Linked DNA regions of Homo sapiens: regions 1 and 2 are each linked to region 3. Evidence: promoter capture Hi-C in 16 types of primary human blood cells and fetal thymus (Javierre and others, 2016). All regions are on one chromosome and are shown on one strand. Each heading gives the region's core, a stretch centred on a gene start or on the middle of the fragment in contact. The rest is flanking DNA. Distances are from core to core; before and after follow the strand shown. Region 1 overlaps CA5BP1-CA5B (CA5BP1-CA5B readthrough). Region 2 holds the start of LOC124905268 (small nucleolar RNA SNORA7). Region 3 holds the start of S100G (S100 calcium binding protein G).

Evidence for each region. Contacts are between HindIII fragments. The CHiCAGO score rates a contact against its expected background, and 5 or more counts as called.
Region 1: a fragment that was not itself captured here is called in contact with the fragment with the promoter of S100G in region 3 in 1 of 17 cell types (activated CD4 T cells); the score reaches 5.6 in activated CD4 T cells.
Region 2: a contact is called between a fragment that was not itself captured here and the fragment with the promoter of S100G in region 3, in 1 of 17 cell types (naive CD4 T cells). The highest score is 5.3, in naive CD4 T cells.

What each region holds. Positions count from the first base shown.
Region 1 is chrX:15,696,352-15,701,232 of GRCh38, reverse strand. All of the region lies in intron 3 of CA5BP1-CA5B (CA5BP1-CA5B readthrough), which reads right to left. It also overlaps the pseudogene CA5BP1. Among named protein-coding and RNA genes, the nearest start is that of CA5BP1-CA5B, 23 kb to the right of the region's middle. The HindIII fragment of the contact is 1,313 bases long and covers 1,583-2,895 here.
Region 2 is chrX:15,714,895-15,719,138 of GRCh38, reverse strand. All of the region lies in intron 3 of CA5BP1-CA5B (CA5BP1-CA5B readthrough), which reads right to left. It overlaps LOC124905268 (small nucleolar RNA SNORA7), which reads right to left and starts at 2,931; the gene lies at 2,793-2,931. The HindIII fragment of the contact is 494 bases long and covers 1,957-2,450 here.
Region 3 is chrX:16,647,296-16,651,974 of GRCh38, reverse strand. S100G (S100 calcium binding protein G) reads right to left here and starts at 1,817. Exons shown (of 3, transcript NM_004057.3): 1 at 1,772-1,817; 2 at 834-976. The coding sequence starts at 968. All of the region lies in intron 13 of CTPS2 (CTP synthase 2), which reads left to right. The HindIII fragment of the contact is 12,685 bases long and covers 1-2,022 here.

The DNA.
Region 1 (4,881 bases), core at 990-3,489, 950 kb after region 3:
GAGCCACCGCACCCGGCCTAGACTTCTTATAATATATTTTTCTTTCCAATATCTATAGAATTTCCCATATCCTTTTTGCAATATAAGCCAGTGGTTGTTATTCTGTTTGTGGCTAAAGACTCTCTAACAAACCACAATTTTGTCCCGGTGAGGTACAGGCAGTCATAAGCGAATCATCACTAAATATGCCTTCTACTGGTTAATCAAGGTGTTGATTAGTTAAAAGCCATTCTCATAGACTTGAGAAGATGTCTGTTTCTTCTTCTCATACAACAAGAGGTACAGCATTTCATTGGTTAGTTGATATTAGGGATTAGTGTCTATCAGTGGTGTTCAACAAGGGGTGAGTTTGCAATTGACAGTGGAGAATGTCTGGAGACATTTTTGGTTGTCATGACCTGGGGAGGTGGTACTATAGGCACTCAGTGAGTCGAGGCCAGGGATGCAATTAAACATCCTGCAATGCACAGGACAGTCTCCACAACCAAGAATGATCTGCCCTCAATGTCAGTGGTGCTGAGGTTGAGACCTTTCATCCAGCTTCCTCTAATGTTATATAATCACGATGCATTCATCAAACTAAGAAATTAACATTGGGTTGATACTGTTAAGTGAACTCCAGACTTTAGATTGCCCAAGTGTCCTTTGTCTTCTCCAGAACCTACTCCTCCTTGGTCTCCTCCACTCTGGAGTTTTTCTGCCTTGTTTTTCATGACCTTGATGCTTTTGAAGACGGCTGGTGATGTATTTTGTAGAAGTCCTTTTTCAGTTTGGTTTTGTCTTTTCTCATGATTTAGATGAGGGAATACAAATTTTGGAGGAGGAATGCCATAGAGGTGACTGGTATTTAGGTTGTTTGCAAACAATGGTGCAAAGAATAACTATGTATATGTATTATTGTTTAGGTCTGCAGTTTATGTGTAGGATAAATTGCTGTTTGGTAAACTGCACTCTGATAGCTACTACAATAGTACCAACTTAGCATTGTATCTTCCTTTGATATTGTAATTAACTATTAGTAAAACAACATACTTTTTAGCCTATTATATCTTTATTCATGTGTCATTACCACCTACCAGTAACACATGAGGCTGCCCATGCTCCACACTTGTACCAGCACTGTGAGCAATACAATTTTGGGGTTTCTGCTAATCTGATATGTGAAAATTTGTATTTCAGTGTAGTTTCATCTTGTTTCGTCACTTTTTATAAGCAAGGCTGAAAATTTTTTCACATGGTATTGGGTTTCTTGTTTCCTTAACTGTAAGCTGTCTGTTTATACCATTTGCTGTTGATTATCTAAAAACTGATTTCTAGAAACTCTTTGTATATTAGGGCAATTAACTCTCTGTTTTGTTCACTATGATGTCTCAAACACCTAGAAGAGTAGCTGGCATATAGTAGGCATTGAATAAATAGTAGCTGAATGAGGGAACAGAGTTGCAAATGTTTTCCCTGTTTGTCATTTATCTTTTGTTTACGGTGATTTTCATCAGAAAGGATTTTAAAATTTTTGTATGTAGTCTAATTGCTAGTTGTTTTCTTGATTACTTCTGGGTTTTGATTTATAGTTAGAAAAGCTTCCTCCACTTGGATGTATGAAAGAATTTTCCTATGCTTATCCTCGTACTTCTATGGCATTTTTTTACCTTTAAAGTTTTGTTCCATCCAGAATATATTTTTGTCAGGATTGAACGATGGGTCCAACTTTTTCTCCTAAATGCCTGCTCAGTTGTCCCCCAATGCCATTTACTGGATTTATCTTTTCCTGCATTGAGCTGAGATCCTATCTTTACCATAAAGTAAATTCTCATGTATTTGGACATATTTCTGAACTATTTTCTTCCTTGATTTATCTTCCTATTCATGTGCTAGTATCATACTATTTAATTATTGTGGCTTTAAAGCCTTATGGGTCTAATCATTCCTTATTTTCCTCCTTTAGAATTTTTCCAGCTATTCATGCTTATCTGCTTTTCCACATGAACTCTAGAAGTACTATATCTAGTTTTAAAATTCTGTTGGTATTTTTATTAAAACCATATTAAATTTATGGAATCAACTTAAGGAGAACTGACATCAAAGGTGTCTTTATAATATCTTCCTATGTAAAAACAGGGTATGAATTTTATAAAGTCAAGTCTTCTGTGTCCCTCAGAAATGTTTTATAGCTTTCTTAACATTTTATGTTGTTTATTAACATTATTTTAGTTTCTATTATAAGTAGGTTTCCTTCTTCTGTTATGTCTTTTAACTAACTGTGAGTTATATATGCCAACGGAATTGATTTCTATAAATTGACATGGTACTCCACTAATTGCTGAATTATCTTTGTAGGAGTTTTTAGTGTTTCTCTAATGTTCTTTATGTTTTTTGGCCTAACTTTATTGGCTCCTGCCAGAGGTTAATTCAATTAAATTTAATATTTAGTATGCTAATAACCATGGAGTTAATGATATCCTTTCCACATTAAACATACTATTTATTTTTGAGCTGAGATAAATCTACTTCATCCAGTTAGGGAATTCTTCATTTCTGTTTTATTAAAAAAATTTTTAAAGGGATGGTGGGTTTTGTCTAACGTATTTTAGGAAATCCATGGAAATGATCATATAGATTTGTTGATGGGATGAAATCCATTAATTGTAAGTATATCATTCTTAGTACTGAACCATCTGTGGATTACTGGAATAAACCCTACCTGGACAAAGTATATATTTCTTCTAATGCACTGCTAGATTCTATTTCTACTATTTTATTTAGCTTTTTTTTCTGTTGTTACATATTTTTTAGAGATATTGGCCTATTGTTATATTTTGGGGGTAGGATGGTCTAATCTTTGATAGGTTTTGGTATCACTGTTATCCTGGCTGCATGAAAAAGAGGCTGGAAGCTTTTAGTCAATAAAAATCCAATATGAACAAGTAAACGCAGTTATTATTACAGTTTAGTTTATGAATTAAACAGGATTTTGTGTGCTGATGTAGTAACCACCACTTAGACTTAGTTTCTAAGAGAAAAATAAATCCCAAGTTTCAAACAACTGACTTACATGAAAATTTCTGGATGAATATTGTCGGAGTCTGTCTTTATCCTGAGATTCTATAGCAAAACTCCCTTAAGGATTTTAAAGGGTTTTGAATACACCCATTTCCAGCCTTCGTTTTTTTATTTAAAAGGGTCTTAATTTTCATAGAGAATCTACACAATGCATGTATAATAAAAACATATGTCACTGTCAAATATAGATGTAAAAAGCTTATGTTCTTCTATGTTTTAACTCTTCTCTCTAGCTAATTTGAAATATCTCTAAATTCATGTCCAAACTGAGATAAGACGTTGGTACACTTCAATAAAAATGTATAAGCATTACAAGATGTTAAAACTGATGCCACAGTCTGAGCCCAGCCTTGTTTTAAAAGGGGAGACGAGGATTTCCTTAGATGAAAATTGTGGAGAGAACGTACCTGATCATCATCAACCTCTACTGGCTGCTTCTTAATGATAAAGGTGATGGACTCAAGACAGGGCTGGACCAGGGAGATACTGGACCTACTTGGGTCCAGTAATCTAGACAGGTGGGCACCAGGCAGGAAGTGCCAAACGACCCAAATTCCATAACAGCGTCCTGGCCAAGAGACTGGGTCACTGAGTCATTATTTAGTAGTGAAAACCACTCAGGAATTGGACGCCGAGGTGACGGTTCTCAGGGAGTATCTGGAGATCAGCAGTGGTCCAGAGGAGCTCCAGGCCCTTCTGGGCAGCTACCTGAAGAATTGCTGCTTAGGATGGAATCATGCCCAGCCTTTGTTTCTAAAATTAACTGTGTATTTTTTATATTCTCCAGTGGGAAAACAGCCAAAACCATTTGATCTCTCAATTCTAGTGAGGTTCCAGCAGGTAGTCTCCTCTGAGTATTGCTGGGAGGTATTAGACAGTGGCCAGTGCATAAAGAAGGAGGCTTCACTTCTTCAAGGGAGACTGAGAATTTTCCTTTTAAAATGCAATGCAGAAAAACAACCCCATTAAAAAAGGGACAAAGGACATGAACAGACATTTCTCAGGACATACAAGTAGCCAACAAACATGAAAAATGCTCATCATCAGTAATCATCAGAAAAGTACAAATCAAAACCGCAACGAGATACCATCTTAAAACAGTCAGAATGGCTATTATTAAAAAGTCAAAAAACAACAGATGTTGGTGAGGCTGTGGCAAAAAGGGAATGCATATACACTGTTGGTGGGAATGTAAATTAGTTCAGCCACTATGGAAAGTAGTTTGTAGATTTCTCAAATAACTAAAAACAGAGCTACCATTTAATGCAGCAATACCATTACTGGATATAAACCCAAAGGAAAATAAATCATTTTGCCAAAAAGACACATGCACTCATATGTTCACTGTCACACTATTCACAATAGCAAAGACACAGAATCAACCTAGGTGCCCATCAGCGGCGGACTGGATAAAGAAAATGTAATATATACACTATGGAATACTACACAGCCATAAAAAATGAAATAATGTCCTTTGCAGCAACATGGATGCAGCTGGAAGCCATCATCCTAAGCGAATTAATGCAGGAACAGAAAACCAAATGCTGCATGTTCTTGAGAGAACTAAACATTGAGCACACAGATATAAAGATGGGAACAATAGACACTGGGGGTTACTGGAGGGGGGAGAGGGTTAAAAAACTACCCATTTGGTACTGTGCTCATTACCTGAGTGATGGAATCTGTACCCCAAACCTCACCATCATGCAACATACTTATGTAACAAACTTGCACATGGTACCCCCTGTATCTAAAATAAAAGTTGATAGAAACAAACAAAAAATGAAATGCAGATCAGGAGGAGCCAGAAACCTGGACTAA
Region 2 (4,244 bases), core at 954-3,453, 930 kb after region 3:
GGTAGAGAGGAAAGCCCTGACATCAACCTCTGGGCGGGGCGTCGATTGGCATCTGTGGAATGCCCACGGGGAAAGATTCTTTTACACTCATTATCTTAATTCTCAGAGCATCTCTGAGGTTTTGTTGCAACTTCAGCGTTCTTTTTTAACTTTTATTTTAGGTTCAGGGGTACATGTGCAAGTGTGTTATATAGGTAAATTGTGTGTCACGGGAGTCTGGTGTACAGATTATTTTGTCACCCAGACAATAAGTACAGTATTCGATAGGTAGTTTTTCGATCCTCTCCCTCCTCCCACCCTCTACCCTCAAGTAGGTAAGAGGAAGCTCTGAAGCTCTCCTGGGATGTTCACCCGCTGTGGTGAGTCAGGTGAGGCCCTTCATGGAAGGGCACCCTTTGTTTACCAGAGAGAAAGGAGTCACGTTTGTTTCCTGAATGAAGATAGTCTGTCTATGAACCAGGTATCCTAGCCCCGAAAAGGTGGAAGGTGCATGCCAAAAAACCTCTAGATAGGACTCAATTCTTCCCATCATACACGTAACCAGAGACTCGCAGAAGGGGTGAGGGAAGGATTCCAACTTTGAGTCAGCAGAGGAAACATTCTTTTGAGGTAGAGTCTGGAAAAAAACAACGAATCTGTAGATTTCCATAAATAACTGACAGGAGACAGGTGACTTCTATGAAAATATTAACCCAAATGATGGGTGTTAATCATTAAACCTTTTAGGTGGTGGCTTTGTTCTTTTTCTGATATTTTAATCTGGGTCACAGAATGGCTCAGGCAGCTTTAAGTGCAGAGTGGGTTTTTCTTCCTTTTTTGTTTGCCTTTTGTTTTCTATTCCAAAAGGATGTTGTGACCTCTTTTCCTGGTAACTGCTATTCTTCCCTCCCTCCCTCCCTCCCTCCCTCCCTCTCTCTCTCTCTCTCTTTCTTTCGAGATGAAGTTTCACTCTGTGGCCCAGGCTGGAGTGCAGTGATGAGATCGTGTTCAAGCAATTCTCCAGCCTCAAACTCCCAAGTAGCTGGGATTACAGGCGCCCGCCACCACGCCCGGCTAATTTTTGTGTTTTTAGTGGAGACAGGGTTTCACCATGTTGGGCAGGCTGGTCTCGAACTCCTGACCTCAAGTGATCCACCTCCCAAAGTGTTGGGATTACAGGCATGAGTCACCGTGCCTGGCCAGAAATTGCTATTCAGGTGGAACTCTGTCAACCAGGTAGTTAGCCTTGAAACTTAAAAATACATTAACATGGGCCAGTAAGAGAAAAGGCTGGACAATAACCACTGTCAAAACAGCAATAAAAATAATATTAAAAAACAGCAATAAACAACCTAATTTTGCATCCAGCTCTGTTCCAAGCAAAAATAAAAAAAATAAACAAAAACAAACCAGTTTTCTGTTGAGTGCATCTTTGATTTAAAGGACTTGTTATTTCTCTAAATTTGCAGATGTGTTGAGGCTTGAAATTTGAGCCTGTGACTGTTTTATGAGTTTCAACAGAAAATATTAAACCACCTAAAATGACAGAGGGTAAACTTTCAGTAAATAATTTGGAGCCATTCAGTTGTAGATCTGTTTTTTGTTCATTCCAGTTGCATAAAATATTAGGAATCACTGGGCTCTGTTTGACACATTTTGTCATTATTACCACTCTTTCGAGTGCTCAATAGCCATCTATGTGTAGTGGCTGCCATATACAGACACAGAACATTCCCATCATCACAGAATGTCCCATTGGACAACGCTGTTCTATAGCATTAACTTTGATTTTCACAGCTGCCAGATTTTTGGGTTGATCAAAACCAACCCCTTTGCAAGAAAATGCTTTTAGAGTGAGACAGAGCAGCTCTGGCAACTAAAACGGTAAGTGAAGTACCTGAGTGTTCATTTTGAAAAAATTGCTTTCTAATAACACTTTCTTTATTGCTGGGCCCTTCTGCATAGTTATCTTAAGCTTGAGTAAATCATTCCTAAAGACCTCATTCCAATGTTTTATTAAAGCAATAATAGACTAAAATGGAAATTGTTAATAAAATGGTTTTTATTAAAGTATTTATAGTACATGCTAGAAGTATGAACTGATGACACAACTAGTATGTGTCACTTGGCCTGTGAAACCATATGTGGGATATAAAGATATGTTCAATTATATACATTTATTGAGCACCTATTATGTGTCAGATACATGCACAACAGGTGGCTAAACTGCTATGGACCTTCTTGTACGTGTTTTTTCTGTATGCTTTTTCTTGGGTATTTACTTAGGAATAGAAATTTGGGTCACAGAGTATACATATGTTGAGAGCTATTATCTCTTTCCTTATCCTCTTGTGAGTTGTACACCTTCTCATTAGTATATATGCTCAATTTCACTTATGCATGGAGGCTCTTTCTTTGAAATGTTTTGAATGCCCTAGGAGAAGTATGCTATGTATTTCAATGAACAAGCTTTCAATCTGTTCACACTTGCCCAGGATAAGTTGGTTCCACTGGCAGGATACCCAACCCAATCTAGAACTACATCAATCCTGTTCTGATCTAAATAGCTTGGGGCTTTCTTTTGTGACCAAAACTGGACCCCTACCCAGCCAGCTCAAGCTCTTGGTTTTAAGAGGAATCAATGAAAGGACAGATCAGGTTAAATCATCCTCAAGATCTGAAAAACAATTTAAGTATGTGTTCTGGTGAGAGTTGGCTAGCATCTTCATTTTAAAAAATACTGTATTTCTCTTTTTCTCAGACCCATGTTAAAGAAGAATCATGGAAGGAGGGTTTCCTGTCCAGGGATTGAACACTGTTGCAGAGTTTCTTCCAATCACCAGCTACTGAGCAAGCTGGGAATGAAATGGGTACCTCTGCCAGATTTGCTTTTCATCCAGTTTCCAAAGCTGGCAGAATACTATCCACTTCCAGATGCCATCCTGGGAGGTAGGATCTTCATTTTTATCTGCTGCTCTGAGCTTATCATTGTTATCTACACTTGAACAGGCTCATTCATCATCTCTACATTGTGTTAATAAGCCTTCCCTATCTTTACAGCATGTACCAACTCTTAATCAACAATAGTCTTTCTTGATTTTCAAGTTTGTAGATTAGAGGTCTTTGTGTGCTTCTGCTACTTAAGCAGGGAAAGGCACCAAGGGGATAGTGAAACTCAAATTTATTTTTCCTTATATTTATGAAAATAACTTTGAGGAAAGAGAATCCTAAAATTCTTCACCGAAATGAGGATTTGGATTTTATTTGTATTTCAGCAAGTTATTCTTTTCCTATCTGAAGTTATATTACAGATAGTACAAGGGAACATCTAAAGCCAGTTCTTCCTTCATGCCCAAGGGAGTTGTTTCACTGCAATGTAAATTAGTTTGAAATCCATCCTGGCTGGGCACAGTGGCTCACACCTGTAATCCTAACACTTTGGGAGGCTGAGGTGGAAGGATAACTTGAAACCAAGAATTCAATACCAGTCTGAGTACAAAGTGAGACCCCGTCTCTACAAAACATTTTTAAAAAATTAATTGGGCACGGTGGTGTGTACCTGTTGTCCCACCTACTTGGGAGGCTGAGTAGGAAGAATCACTTGAGTCCAGGAGTTCAAGGCAGCAGTGACCTATGATCATATCACTGCACTCCAGCCTGGGTGACATAGAAAAACCCTGTCTCAAAAAAAAAAAAAAAATTCCATCCTATGAGCAAAATAGCCATTAATGATATATGAAACATTCCTTCTAGTTTTCAGTAGTCAATGAGAAAGCCTACCCTCACAGACAGTGGTGGCTTCAAATTTTCTTTGTTGATGGGTGGAGAGATTATACGGGACTTGTGTTGAAACTACATTTTGGCAGCAAGCTCCCCTTTCACTGAGATCTCACATTTATATGGAGTGCCTATGAGAGAAGTACTGATGGAACTTGTCATGGGCTAAATTCTCCCCAAACCATCCCCTGGGGCCACCACTGTCTACATACTTGCACCTTTACTTGTGTGTAGTTGCATGAAAAAGTAGCAGCCAACTGCATAGGTCACAGTGACATAAAAGATGGCTGTTAGGCCCACGGTGCACAAAATTTCCCAAGCCAAAATTGGAACACACAAGTGACAACTTGAGTGTCCTTAGGAAATGCTCTTCATGGCATCTGTAGACCAATGGAGAAATTGATGGTAAACACGTTACAAACGAAAAGAACTACTAACTACCTTGATAATGATATGATATGGTGGGGTGGGATGGCAGGGACTTCTTT
Region 3 (4,679 bases), core at 568-3,067:
TGAGCCCAATCTCTCTCCCCATGGCAAGAACACGTTTCAGTGGTCCCTGTATGGGTCGCCATGGCCCTCCTGGAGTAAGTTGCCTTACCATCCTTGGCAAGTGTCCTGACTCAGCTTTTTCTTTAGCAAAAGGAAAGACAGTACTGTATATTGGAGTGAGGACGATCAGCTCTTCTCTGTACTCTGTTGCCTTGAATGCATTTTGATTTTGACAACTCTGGGGTGATTTTGATGTGAAACTTTATGGCCCAGGAAATTTAGTCCTTTCTTGAAAGTTGTTTAGAAATGCACGGTTGCCTCATTAACACAAATTTAAGTGATGAACACAAATGTAAATGCTTTTGAAATATAAATGAGTGCTGACAAGGCAATTTGTCAGTGGGTTTTCCTAACAGACTGCTAAGTAAGTGTTGGTCTTGTTGAGGGATTTTACATACACAAATGAAGCCTGTCCAAGGCCAGCTAACACTATTTTGCAGTCCTCTTTGTTTTCCTAAAGCCTGGCACAGAAGTACTGAATCCATGCTGAAGGCCTTATTGGGTTTGCTTGGTGACTTGTGGGTCTTCCAGGCATAACTTGGCATTGCTTCCATTTATTATGGCTAGTCCTGCAGAGTCCTGTGCTGAGGCTGCAGGAGGGATAGAAGGCTTGGCCCTTGTTTTCTGAGAGCTTGCCTTCTGAAATGTGGCCTGACTTAAGGGGAAGAAACCCCACCTGCATGTGTCCTCCCTCAAGCGACGGTCCCTATAAGGCTCTACCGGAGTCCTCTCCCCTCCCTCCCTCCCCTCCCACCATCAGTCCCATTAAGTGGGCTCTGCGGATGGCCACTTACTTTGAGTAAACTGGGGAATTCAGCCTGAATCAATAGCTTCAGTTCATCCTTTGACAACTGGTCTGGATCACCTTCTTTGGCTGCATATTTTTCAAAAATCCTCTTCAGTTCCTCAGGAGACTTTTTAGTACTCATTCTGGTGTCTTATAAATTGGGAAGAAAATAAACTTACCAAAAAGCTGAAGTACAGTTTTGTGCTGAGGGTTGTCTGCAGGATTTTAGTGCCATTGGGCCATTTCCTTGGCATAAATGGGGAAGAATAAGGAAAAGAGAATGTCGGGGTCGGAATGGCACCAGTAACTACTAACATGTTTAAAAAATAAGCATCTTAGGCCAGGCACGGTAGCTCATGCCTGTAATCCCAGCACTTTGGGAGGCCAAGGAGGGTGGATCACTTGAAGTCAGGAGTTCGAGACCATGGAAGCCTGGCCAACATGGTGAGACCCTGTCTCTATACAAAAATTAGCCAGGCGTGGTGGTGCGTGCCTATAGTCCCATCTACTTGGAAGACCGAGGCAGGAGAATCGCTTGAACCCGGGAGGCGGAGGTTGCAGTGAGTGCGATGCCACTGCACTCCAGCCTGGGTGACAGAGCGAGCCTCCGCTGCAAAAAAAAAAAAAAAAAAAAAAAGACATCTTAGATAGTATGTTAAATGTCTGTTCTTAGAGTACATCTGTTAGGAGATGGTCCCTGGAGCCAAACATTTTTATTAGTAATTAATGACATTCTACACTTTTTATGTACCTGATCTGCACTCTGCAGGCTGTGGTCTTGAAGAATACTTGACCACAGCTTCTAGCTTCTAAGTTACAGGGAATATCTCCAGATGGCATAAACTCACCTTCTCTCCAGACCATTATCTTTCACACCATTCTAAAAGGAAGCAGAGTATTAATGCAAACAGAAGGAGCTCTAGGTAGTACCAAAATCACACTAACCTGGTTGCCCAATAGTGAAACAGCTAGAAGAATCAAAGAGGAGTTTGAAGAGCTGAGCAGAATCATGACACTTTTATAGTCTTTACGGGCACGCCACCCTGATTATGAAAATTTCCTTTTGTTGGCCATTTAAGGGTAATTATTAATGGTTTTTGAAACTCAGGCTTAAGACTGCATGAACCCCATAATTAAGGGCAAGATCCAGTAAAGGTCCATCTCGACAGTTGCTTCATGGTTCAGAGTCGTAAGCTTGGATTTTTTTCCCCCTGAGATTATATTTTCCCTCCAATGTAGAATTATATTTGCTCACAGTTCACATTTCATAAAGCTTAGATATAGAGGATTCTTTTCAATTTAGTTGCATATTTAGGCTTTAAAAAATAACTTTCTTCATATCCAGAAAAAATAAATGCTGCCCTGTGCGGTAGCTCATGCCTGTAATCCCAGCACTTTGGGAGGCCGAGGCAGGAGGATTGCTTGAGGTGAGGAGTTTGATACCAGCCTGGTCAACACAGCAAGACATTTCTACTGAAAAATTTAAAAAATCAGCCAGGTGTGATGGTACATGCCTGTAGTCCCAGCTACTGTAGAGGCTGAGGTGGGAGGATTCCTTAAGCCTGGGAGGTTGAGGCAACAGTGAGCCATGATTGTGCCACTGCACTCCAGCCTGGGTGACAGAGTGAGATCCTGTCTGTAAAAAAGAAAAAATGCTGTCATAGAAGGACAATATTACATAGTTTAAAAAATTACGGTATGGCCATTGAAGTCCTTCTGATGTCTTTACATATTAGCAGCTTAAATATTTGAATACATGAATGAATGAATGGAAGTATTGCTTCAGAAGCAGGTTTAAGAAGTGGAAAGAAGATACTCAGTAATTTGTGGTTTTATTTGGCAAATCAATATTGAGTAACATGGTCATTTTTTCAGCTCTTTCATTATTTGTTGGTCCTGTGTCTGCTTTTTATTTCTCATTATCCTTTTCCTTACCAAATATATTTCGTGATCATTCGAAAAACTTGTGAGAACACTCGACTTACTCTTGTTCAGTTGGAAATACTTCAAACTTTTTGTAACTGCCATGATTTAAAATTGCCAAGGAGATTGATTTCTACTGGAAAGAGTTCCATGAAATAAGTAGGACATTTCCAAGGGACATTGATCTAATGCTGATTGTAACTCACAGGAAGGGGTTCCAGGTGGATTTTAAGAGCACTTTACAGCTTTGAAACACTTGTACACTTCCACACTTATAGAATTTTCCCTGACTCTGCCTTATATCACCTACAAACTGAGGACTGGACTATTGGGACTGTATTTCTCCCTGATGTTTCTCAGCTCTAAAATTCTAGGGCCTTATTTACATTGGAGAACAAATGGGAAATCTAATAGAATTCCTTAAAAGCTTCCCGCCAGTCTTGAGCATTTATCATTCCATGTGTCTTTGCTGTCTTGTATATATTCTTCTTGTTTTTATTATGGATTCTTTGACTTTGCTATGCACCAATATAGAATATGTATTAACTCACTGGTTGGAGTAAAGACAGGCATTTTATTTTTAGTTATAAGATTTTACACAAAAATATTCTGATTTTGGCAATGCATTTTAATCAAGATTTTAGAAAATTGCCAGTGTTTTTACACATATGTTCTGTTTTCCTGGGAGGAAGTAGGCGTTTGTGCTTAATCATAACAAGAACTATCTTTTTTTAAACATCTTTTAAAAAATATTTCAGATCTACAGAAAAGTGGCAAGAATAGTGCAATGAACACCAGTCTGCCTTTCGACTAGATTCACTAATTGCGAACATCTCCACATTTGCTTTCTCTTTCTCTGGACAGATACTTTCCTCCACCCCTGAGTCATTTGAGAATCAATTACAAACATCCAGATGCTTCCCCCCTGAGCACCTCAGCATCTGTCTCCTAAGGACAAAGACATTCTCCTATGTAACCACAATGCCATTATCATAGCCCACGTCAAATCTCTCCAATTGTTGAATAGCATCTTAAATCATCTTTTCTCTCAAATTACCACTAGTGAGCTAAAATCAAATGGGGTGTTTATTATGTTTTGCATCTGGTTTTTTTGTTTATTTTTTTGAAGCCACTTCACTGTGTCACTCAGGTTGGAGTGCAGTGGCGTGAACACAGCTCACTGCAGCCTCAACCTCCATGGGCTCAGGTGATCCTCCTACCTCAGCCTCCCGAGTAGCTGGGACTACAGGCATGTGCCACCATGCCCGGATACATATATATATATTTTGTGTATTTCTTGTAGAAAAATACAACATGGGTTTTGCCATGTTGCCCAGGATGGTCTCCAACTCCTGGGCTCAAATGATCTGCCCGCCTCAGTCTCCCAAACTGCTGGGATTACAGGCGTGAGCCACTGCACCTGGCCTATTTTTTGCATCTGAAGAAATGATTTTAATAACTATATGTCATCTTAGTAACGATATAGGATGAAAGATAACATGTTCTATATAATACACCCATATATTACATATGACGTGTGTATGTATATATAAAAATTATCTCTAAGAAAAACTTTTGGAGCAGTATTGGTTAATAGTCTTCTAGGCTACAAATCTCTTCTTTCAAGGGACAACTTCTGATTAGAATCAGCCCAATGCGGCCGGGCACGGTGGTTCACGCCTATAATCCCAGCACTTTGGGAGGCCGAGGTGGGCGGATCACCTGAGGTCAGGAGTTCGAGACCAGCCTGACCAACATGGAGAAACCTCATCTCTACTAAAAATACAAAAATTAGCCAGGCGTGGTGGTGCATGTTTGTAATTCCAGCTACTCGGGAAACTGAGGCAGGAGAATTGCTTGAACCCGGGAGGTGGAAGTTGCGTTGAGCTGAGATCCTGCCATTACACTCCAGCCTGGGCAATAAGAGCGA